2 separate regions of the Homo sapiens genome follow, and region 1 is linked to region 2. Evidence: promoter capture Hi-C in 16 types of primary human blood cells and fetal thymus (Javierre and others, 2016). All regions are on one chromosome and are shown on one strand. Each heading gives the region's core, a stretch centred on a gene start or on the middle of the fragment in contact. The rest is flanking DNA. Distances are from core to core; before and after follow the strand shown. Region 1 holds the start of EMSY (EMSY transcriptional repressor, BRCA2 interacting). Region 2 holds the start of DHCR7 (7-dehydrocholesterol reductase).

Region 1 (5,106 bases), core at 1,657-4,156, 5.0 Mb after region 2:
AAAATTTAAAGAGGGAAGTCAATCACAAGATTTCATTGAATCTTCAGTATCAGGCAACTGGCTTCTATTTTATGGCCGCAAATAACTATATATTGGGCCCCTTTTCTCACCTGTAAAATAGGAACGAAAAGACCTTCTCCACAAATAAGATGAAATAAGAACAAAGGCTGAGGGTGAACCTACCACGTCGTAGGGCCTCAAATAAATTCCTTCTCCTTCTTGCCCTTGACAGAGATAGCACGAGATATCACTACCATTCCCACTTCACACGTGGAGGAAATCCAACGCGAGAACGCTCGGATTTCCCCTTCTTTACTTGCAACAACTCCGTAACCCGCAAATCGGCTACGGACAACTGCGATGTCCACTATGTTAGTTCTCGTAGCGTGGATTCTCTCTCCTCAAGATGCCATCTGGGGGGCTAGAGGCCACTAATAATTGCCCTCACGATCGAAGAAACTCGATCCTAATCCTCGACGGCACTTCAGGAACAAAGCTGCTCTCCCATCGTCCCTAACCTCACTACCGTAAAGGTCGCAGCAGAGCCCCTGCTCCAACCGCTAGCGCCATCTTGGCCGCTACGTGTGACGCCACACGTAGCAGAGAGCGCAGCCGATTGGCTGGGAGACGGCAGCCCAGGAGAGGCGCGCGAAGCCAGAGACAGGAGGGTATGCAGGAGAAACCAAGGGAACTACAATCCCGGCCTTCCTTGCGCGTACGACAGCAAACCTGGAGCGAAAGAGGTTGGAGTTTGGATTCGGACCACAACTCCCAGCACCCTCCGCGATGTCTGTCCTTTTCTTTCATAACGCGGAGGAAAAGAAGGACAAGATGAATGGAGGCCTTTTGGTGTTTGTTCTCCGAAAGGCGGGAAAAGCGAACTACACCTCCCGACTGGCCGCGCGCGGCTGCGCCTGCGCCCTGTTACCTGTCGCCATCTTGCCCCTTCAGAGGCACCGCAAACAAACCCAATTCCTGGTGTCCCCTAGTCTTGGCGGAGGAGCCTTTTAGATGAGCCCCGAAAGGCCGGGCAGGTGGGTGACTCTCAGGCAGGGTCCTGGGAAGAGCTGGCAGGCCAGCCAGGCTAGAGGAGCGCCGGGCCAAGCATTCGGAGCCCGGCTTGGGGCTCCCAGCCCCATCCTCCGTTGTTTCCTAACGGGATCGTGGGGCTCCCCGGGGTGGACTCAGGGGGACTCTGGCTGGCCTGGTGCTGGGACTCTGGGGGTTTAGCTCTGGGAGACTCCCGGTGAGTCCAGGTCGTCTGGCTGGGTATCCGCTGGCTTACTCTCTCTCGGTTGTCCTCTCCGCTGGGGAGGGAGTGAGGCGCGGGTGCCGGCCGGGACCCCTGACAACAGCTACTGGCCCAGAGGGGCTTGGGTCGTGGACTTGACATTGGGACCGGCGCCGAGAGGTCCGGGTGAGGAGCCTGGGCTGGCTGCTCTTGTTGTGGTGCTGCTAGGGAGTGCGTGTTTGGAGAGGGGGCGGGGCGGGCTTGTCTCCTTGACACTTGAGTGGGGAAGGATCCTACAAGATCCTGGTTCCCCGAGCGGGCTCCGGAAACTACTGCCCGGGTTTCCGATGCGTTGCGGCCCCGCTCTGGGGTCCCCTGGCTAGGACGCGCCGGGATGCCGTGACGTGGTGCTCGGTTCGAGCAGTCGCCGGCCGCCTCCAAGATCCTGTCGGGAGGCGGGGACTGGCTTGTGGAGGGAGAGGATTCCTTTGGCTCTGCCCCTTCTTCCTCCTCCCCACCCCTTTTCTTTATGTCATACTGCCGGCTGGGGCGCGCAGTCCAGTTCTTCTTGCCTTGGGTTTGTTCTGAGCTGAGAGGACTATGGGAAGTAGGGGGAGGGGGGCTCACCTCGGGACACAGAGTTGGAGTTAGCAGCCCCAGCGCCTGGAACGGGATATAGCAGTTATTTCGGTTCGGTGTCTGACTTCTAGGCTAGACAGTGAGCTCGTTCATTCATTCATTCATCCATTCGTTTTGCTCAGTCGCGTCAACCATTCACTTACCCATTTAACAAATACTTAGAGCGGCTCTACTCTGTGCTAAGCAGGTATTGCGCGTGCCCCCAGAGCCGTGTCTTTTTGTCTTTTACACTAGGAAATTCCCAGTTCTAAGTAAGTTCCTGGCAGCTCAACTGTTGGTAAATGGCTGTTTAATAACTACAGGATCAAAATTCATATTCCATTAAGACTTGAGAGAGTATATATATATGTGTGTGTGTGTATATATATATGTATATATATATGTGTATATATATATATGTATGTATCGTTCCAATTTTAGTATATGTGTTGCTGAAGCGAGCACGAGGAGTTATTTATTAAGTTTCTTTAACTTGCTAGGAGCTTTACAAATTTTATCTCATGTAATTCATAAATGAGGAAGCTGACAGGAGTCAACTTGCCCCAGGTTGGTAGTACCACCTGTTTATTAAATGAAATGCCAGCCACTATGAAAGAACTTTATATATAGTGTTCTTTAATACGCGTAACAAACTGGGTGGTATTACCTCTGTTTTATAGATGTGTAAAGCTTAGGCTTAACCAGTAAGTTGAAAAGTTGGGACTAGAAACCTAGAGGTGTCTGGCTCTAAAGCCTGTGTTCTTTCCACTGTGATAGTTCAAATGACTTAATTCTTGATTTCTCAAAAGTTGGAAAGTGTGGTGGTGAGAAAGGATTGTAAAATAGTAATATCTTTTTGGTTTACTTCTTAGCCTGTGACTGGATCTCCAGGTGAGTGGCCCCTTGAATGTACTTTGGTACTTTGGTAATTTGACTTTTTTTTTTTGTTCTGGTAGGGAGGACAAGCTCTTTGGGGCTACCAAACAGAAGCAGCAATGCCTGTTGTGTGGCCAACCCTTCTGGATCTCAGCAGGGATGAATGCAAAAGAATTCTTCGAAAATTGGGTATGACGTTCATTGTTTGTTTTTTACCTCTCTCTGATACCTTTTTTCCCTTTCTGCCTAGGTCATAGCTGTTTGCATGGATGTCATATCTCACGCTACATCAGAAATTCTTTGGAGATACAGTTCCCATCTTACTCATTGTTGTTTCCCTCAGTGCCTAACATAGTGCTTTGTAAATAGTAGGTGTGTGAATTGTAATAATACTAGTAGCTAAGATTTATTGAGGGCTACTTGGCTATTCTGAGTCTTTTTTATACAACATCTAATTTAAATATTTTAAGAATTAGCTTTGTCCTTTGAAAGCCTAAAAGGTAGGTGTTTTTTGTTTGTTTGTTTTGTCTCGTCTCCATTTTACAGATGAAGCTTAGAAGCCAAGGTAATGGTGATAGACATGGAGTCAGTATTTGAACCAGGGAGTATGCTTTCAGTCTCACTTTAACATACTCTTAACCTTCATGATTGTATGTGTCAATTACATACTATTTCTGAATTCTAAGTTGATGTAAGCCATGCTCACTTTTTCAAATTATATTTTACTATCAATAATAAAACACATTTTATGCTTGTAATTTATTATTTAGTGTTTCTTTTCCCTTACAGCAGCCTTTCTCAACCAGCATTGAGGGAAAGAATTAAACCCTAATGCTAAGGTATCCATTGTATGTAAAGAACTAACTTCGCCCTGTGCATCTAGAGTGCTATTAGTTATTACTTTCCTTGGGAAAATTGAGAAAAAGAGTTATTACTCAAATCATTTTGTGTTCTGTAGTTCAAATGAGGATCTTTGGTTGAGAAATGCTGCCTTAGACTATGAGGACCTTGTCTTATTTACCACTGTAGTCTCTGGCTAGCACAATAAATGAAATAATTGAAAAAAATAATTTGAAAAAGAAGATTAAATGTTTTGGCAGTGGATATGCATTATTTAGATATCTGTGATTTTAAAGGAAAAGTATAGGTCTTGAATTTAGACAGACCTGGGGTCTTGGTATTATTACAAATGACCCATGTGACCAAGGACAAGTTATTTATTCTTCCTAAATTTGTTGATAGTTTTGTTAAAACAAAAAAAAAGAGGATAACACTCTCTGCCTCATTAGTTTGTTACGTGTGTTAACAGTATACATAAAGGGCCCGTCATAGTAAATCTTTGTTGGGAATTTTTCTTTGTAAATCAGATAGAATCATAGCTGCTCTGGCCCTGCCTGTCCTTTTTATTCCACCCAAGGCCACTATGAGGATTTCAAATCACTTTTTAGCAGCATCTTTTAAAGCAAGTCTAAGAGAGTTGTTTTTGGAGAGGGTGTGGGGGATGTCAATCTTTTTTTTTTTTAACCAAACTTTTAGTCCTAATCTGAAGATAGTTTTCTACACTTGCATACAATTAATATAACTTGTTAGTTGCCGATTATAAAGTTGGACTCATATTTATTTGATAGCTGAAATTGCAGAACATATCACAAAGACAGTAGATTGAATTGGGGTTTCTGGGCTTGGGGGCCTTTGAATTGAGAGATTATGTTTAAATATAAAAATGGTAACCTTTAAGTCTAAATTTATTCCTAATTTAATCAGAGCTGTGTGGGTAATGTTGCTGCAGAGTGCTTCTATATAAAAGAAAACAGTCATCTCGTATGGTAATATCATCTTCATTGACCCCTCATATTGGGAGGTGAGCTTTGATAGTGATTTGCCAAAGACTTCCTCCCCACCCGTTGGCTTATTATCATAACAATGAAACCTTTGAATTGTCTTCACATGCTAACTCTAGGTCCAAAGTTTAGAAAAGGTACATACAGTTTTTAAAAATTAGCTGTATCCTTTAAAAAATAGTTATAAATCATTTTAATATAAGATGTTAAATACTTAGATTTTACATACATATAAAGAAATTGGGATAGAGAATTTCTTTATATATACTGAATGTGTCAGTGCTAGATAAATGCTTCCTTCTCTCTGTCTTGCCTCTCCCCTTCCCTATTTTTGTGATCATTCCTGAGCTGTAGCTCCAACACGGGGCTTTATGGACTATAGTGTATTTGAATGGCTGATTTAATGGACCAAATTGAGGGCTTTATATAAATGGTTTGGCAAATCTTTCGTTTTTGGAATGTTCATATGTGTTTGTTATTTTATTCTACTTTTGTATTAACACTGTGATAGAATTGCTTGAAAAATAATACCAGAAATTC
Region 2 (5,003 bases), core at 361-2,860:
CGAAGAGTTCTTGATAGGAAGAGACCGTGTCTCTCTCCGGCCCCAAATACTGAATACAGAGCCTGGCGAGTGCCAGTCACTCTCCTTATATCTGTAAAATCAAAGTGGATGAAAGAAAACTACTTCTGAGAAAAGCTGACACGCTAGTGAGTCTGATCTCAAGATCACAGCCACCTGGACAAGCTGGCTTGCTTTAGACAGTTCCTCTCCCCCAGGCTCTCATCAAGGTAAGATACAAGCTTAGTTTCTTCCCAGCCAAAACTTACCAGCTCAGTGCCCCCACTCCCTCCGATCCCTAGTTCCCACACTGACTGGTGTTAATCCAGACCACCCACATGCACACTTGCCTTACAGGAAGGCTAAGTAGAATGGGGTGGCATTCGTCTTGCCCCAAGCCATGGATAAGCTACAAGGGGACAATGCCTGGTACCAACATTATCAATTATGTAAAACACTGGGAAATTGCAAAAGGGTCAGGGGATGTGTAACCTCAGAACTAAAGTGTGAAAAAGCCACTGGGAGAATGTTGTCAAAAGGGATTAAAACAAGACCAAAGAAGTACTTTTAGCTTATTACAGAGTTCATTCACCCAGGAGTCAGCTCTTTAGCCACAAGCATTGAGTTGTGCAATAAACATCTAAGTAACATCCTTCCCAATAGACGGCTGGGAACAGACAAAGGGGAGGTGCCCTGGTATGTTGTATTTTACTCATAAGAGGCACAGACAGTCGTTGGCACTCGAGAGCTGGTGGACCAGTCTGTCTGTACTTTCAACGCTGTGAAGCCATAGCCTGCGCCCACGATCCAGGGCACTGAGATACACTTACCTCCAGCCTCTTGCCAAATAGTTTCACAGCAGAAGGGAACTTTTCCTTCTTGAACCGGCCCCTTAAAAGTTTCTAGACACCTGTGCTCCAAATGCCTGCTTGATCCTTCTCAACCGGCTAAAGTCCTGCAAGGAACACAAAAATGAATAAGACCGCAGGCAGCTGACATTTCAGGAGAGGGCAGAAGCTCAAGGCCCACAGTAGGAGTCAAGCAAGAGGCAGAAGGTCCAGTGCTCAGGGCTTCAACAGCCGCATGTCAGGGAGGACGGCGGACAAGCCAGTCCCATCGCAAAGCTGCTGTGCCTGGCTCAGCACTGACAAAGAGGGAGGCGAACAACAGGTGGGGCAGGAGAAAGAGCCGCCGCGGAGCGCGGCATGGGGCCAGGAGCCGACCCCGGAGCCAGGCAGCCTTCGCCCGGGGAAGCTCCAGACAGCGCGGGGACAGAGCATCCCTCAGACGCCGGCTCGTGGGGGAGGGGGACTATCCACGCCTCCGCCCCGCCTCCCCGGAGCCCCAGCGGCCCCTCGCCTGTGAGCTGGACCCTCTCCCCACCTGCGCGCACGCCCCCTACCCCTGACCCCACCCTCGCCCTGTGAGTGGGCACCTGCTCACCTGGGCAAGCGCCCCCCACTGCGCACACCTTCCCCTGGCCTCACCTGCGCACACCTTGGCCACTCACCTGCGCACACCTCGGCCCCTCACCTGCGCCCACCTTCCCCTGGCCTCGCTTGCGCGCGCTGCTCCACGCCGCCTACCCTCTAGCCAGGGGTCGGAGTCACCCGCAGGGCAGGGGCGCCCGCCCCCGGATGATGTCAGCGATTGCCTGCCAATCGGAGGCGGACCCTGCACGCCCGGCGGCTCCGCGCCCCGTGATTGGTCGAGGAGCCTGAGCTGACTCCGGGCCCACCGCGCCCGCCATTCGGCAGCGGCCGGACTCGAGATTGACGGCCCAGGCCCCGCCCTGCCGCCCCACCGGCCCGCCCGGGCCCTAGTGGGTGGGCGCAGCCTCTGGCGCTTCTTCGGGATCCCAGCTGACCAGCTGGGGGTGGGGCGTGGCGGAGTGGCCACGTGGGCCGCGCGGAGAACGCGCCAGGCTCATCACCTGGATCATCGTGCCTCAGTTTCCCCCTCGGCAAATGGGGCTTCAGCGGCTCGCGACGCACATTGATGGAGCGTATGTCCAGGCGCCGGTGCACCGCAAGGAGCAAAACAGACACAGTTCTTGGTCCTAGGGCTCACGTCCCGGGGCGAAGAGGATCCTCCATAAACGATCAGGTAAACACATGGGTGTCAGGGAAGGCTCGCCGCTGGGAGACCGCCAAAGTGACCCGAGATGGAGTCTGGGTGGCCTGCTTATTAGGGGGGCACACCTGTGCGAGGACGGGAGGGGAGGGAGCAGCAGGACTGGGCAAAGGGAGAAGCTGAGCCACAGTGCGAGCCGGACGCACGGGCCACGTTGCGAGGGCATGACCTGGGGCGAGGCAGCCCTGGAGGAGGGGGCAGCTGAAGGTGTCTGCTGACCCCACACCCAACAGCTCGGGTAACAGGCCTTACTGTCAGAGCGATCTGGTTGCCACGTCTCTGTGGCCCTCAGAGAGACATCATGTTTTCTTTTTTCCCTGCACCTTTTTGTTTTGAAAAATGTTCAGCATACAAACAAGTTGAACGTAAAGTGAGCACGCAGATTCCTAGGTTCAGCAGGGGTGAGCAGCTGGCCACGTTTCATTTCTCTCCCTCTGTGTTTATATATGTGTATTTTTCTTTTTTCCTCCCCACTCAGCCCCCACCATTAGCTGCAGATACCGTGATACCCCCCTCCCAAATACTTCGGTATCCAACTCCTTAAGAACAAGAACCTCCTATATTACCAAAATACAATGACCACATCAGTTCAATGCTGTTATCTATTTTCCATCTCCAGTTTCCCGCGGTTGTCCCAATAATGCCCTTTACAGCCCTTTTGTTATTGTTGTTTTGTTTTGCTTTGTTAAGACGGGGGTCTCTGTCACACAGGCTGGAGTGTAGTGGCACGATCACAGCTCACTGCAGCCTTGAACTGCTGGGCTCAAGCGATTCTCTTCCCTCACCCTCCTGAGTAGCTGGGACTACAAGAGCACACCACCACACGCTATTTTTTTTTTGGTAGAGATGGGTGGGGGGGGGGGTCTCACTATGTTCCCCAAGCTGGTCTCGAACTCCTGGGCTCAAGCGATCCACCCACTGTGGCCTCCTACAGTGCTGGGACTACAGGTGTGAAGCTCTGCCCTACAGCCCTTTTTTAAACCCCAGGATCTAATCAGGGAGCCACACTGTGCATTCAGGCTATGCACTTTTTTTGGCAGGATAATATACTACATAGAGCATGTTTTATCTTGTTAGAAGGCTGTCAACCTGAAATAACCAAACAGGTCAGAATTTAGCTTAAAGAGAGTTTATTTAAGTGTATAAAGTTTGAGGACAGGCTGCCTGGGAAGCACAGATTTTAAAGAATGGAAATCAGTATTTTGAACTGTAGATGTTTGGGATCATTTATGTAGACAAATTTTAGGGAAGTTTAACAGAATTTTAACATCTTTTTATGCATAAAGTTATAATCTGACCAGCTGAGGTGGTCTTTTTTAGGTGGAAGGTATATTTAACATTTTACACTGAAGATGTAGGAGTCTGGTCTAAGTACGGGATAATAAGAGACAATCTATAATAAAGATCAGTAATTAAAAGGGGAGCAGGCCTGGTCTGTGGTCTCTCCTAGTCATTTATAAAACATGAATGATAAAGAAAAACAGCCTATAATCTAAAAGACAAAATTACAAACATGCTATGTGACCCAGTTTCTAGGACTTAACTTCCCTCTTGACATAATAAATTTATTTATTTTTATTTATTTATTTAAAGACAGGATCTTGCTCTGTTGCCCAAGTTGACCTAATAAATTTCAAGAGTCCTAAAATTTTCTTTTTTAAGACAACATATCACTGTGCTCCATGATTGATAGTGGGGCTCCGTGGTTTCTGCCAGAAGTCTCCATTTTTCCTTTTGTTATTAATGAGTAATTGGTGCAGTGATACTTTGAGACTGTAAATATGCTGTTCCCAAATGACCTTTCACCCAGTGAACTAGCATTTAATGAGGAATCTTGCCTGAATCCCTTATTTCTTGGGACAAAGTGTTAATTTTCTAATTTTATCATTCCCTCAACATTTATTAATAAATTATTTATTAGCAAGCATTCTTCTGTAGGGATTTCCTCTTTGATTTATTTTTTATCAGTATGCCCTAATGGATTTAGCTGACCGAGTTATGATCCTTACTGTATTGTCCTGTATTTAGCTAACGGGAGCCCCTTCAAATTGGCTTCTTTTTTCATATGACATGTATCTACCATCCTTTGAGTACTTACTTATTTTCTGGGACAACCAGATGTTCAAGGATCCTCCCCTTCTCTGCCCAGGCCTGGCATCAGCCATTGTTGGCAGGAGATAATTTGAGCAGATCGTGTGGATTTCAGAAGCATGAAAACTACTGTGAGGATTAAATAAGTTAGCATGTATAACATTCTGGTGCTTTTGTGGAGTTTCCAAATTGTCATGAACAAGCACTACTTTATAGACAGGAAAAAAAGTGATTCAAAATGTGAAAACGGGTATATGTACATAAGGTAAAAATAAAATCCTAAGCCCCCCATTGACCAAAGGGACCTTCTCCTGACCAAGGGGACACCAGAAAAACCTCAACACTGAATTCCCAGACATGATGGGATGGGAGGTCAGATGCGCCTGGTAATAGCCCCCTGTTTCAGAGTTTGGACACCACAACTGGCCGGCATTCATGTTAAAACAGAGATCGTAAGACTGACAGAACGGACTCTGTGGCAATAAGATACCAAATTATAAACAGGACCCAAAGCCATGCTAGGCGAGGGTAAGTCAGGCAACCCACACTTAGAGAATAAACTATATTCTAAGAGCCACAAGGCTTTCTGTTTCTCTATTAGCCAAACACACACTAGCCTTGGGATAGGGAATATTAAAACAATTGCAGCTCCACTAGGTGCCAACTAACTGACTCTGTTTCACCAGCCATAGCAGCTGTGATTGGACAAGAGACTGATTTCAGTGACTTTCTCCTAATAAGAGACCACCGACCAGCTGACCATGCCGACCAGCTGACCCGTT

What was found. Contacts are between HindIII fragments. The CHiCAGO score rates a contact against its expected background, and 5 or more counts as called.
Region 1: a contact is called between a fragment that was not itself captured here and the fragment with the promoter of DHCR7 in region 2, in 1 of 17 cell types (naive CD4 T cells). The highest score is 5.1, in naive CD4 T cells.

The regions. Positions count from the first base shown.
Region 1 is chr11:76,444,095-76,449,200 of GRCh38, forward strand. It overlaps EMSY (EMSY transcriptional repressor, BRCA2 interacting), which reads left to right and starts at 924. Exons shown (of 22, transcript NM_001300942.2): 1 at 924-1,034; 2 at 2,806-2,914. The coding sequence starts at 2,845. EMSY-DT (EMSY divergent transcript) reads right to left here and starts at 586. Exons shown (of 2, transcript NR_186348.1): 1 at 184-586. RefSeq lists enhancers at 1-564, 565-1,201, 902-1,131, 1,332-1,381, 1,631-1,925 and 1 more. The HindIII fragment of the contact is 738 bases long and covers 2,538-3,275 here.
Region 2 is chr11:71,446,783-71,451,785 of GRCh38, forward strand. It overlaps DHCR7 (7-dehydrocholesterol reductase), which reads right to left and starts at 1,611. Exons shown (of 9, transcript NM_001360.3): 1 at 1,508-1,611; 2 at 828-952. It overlaps DHCR7-DT (DHCR7 divergent transcript), which reads left to right and starts at 1,746. Exons shown (of 2, transcript NR_186309.1): 1 at 1,746-2,103; 2 at 4,908-5,003. RefSeq lists a silencer at 1,278-1,917 and an enhancer at 1,643-2,144. The HindIII fragment of the contact is 9,377 bases long and covers 238-5,003 here.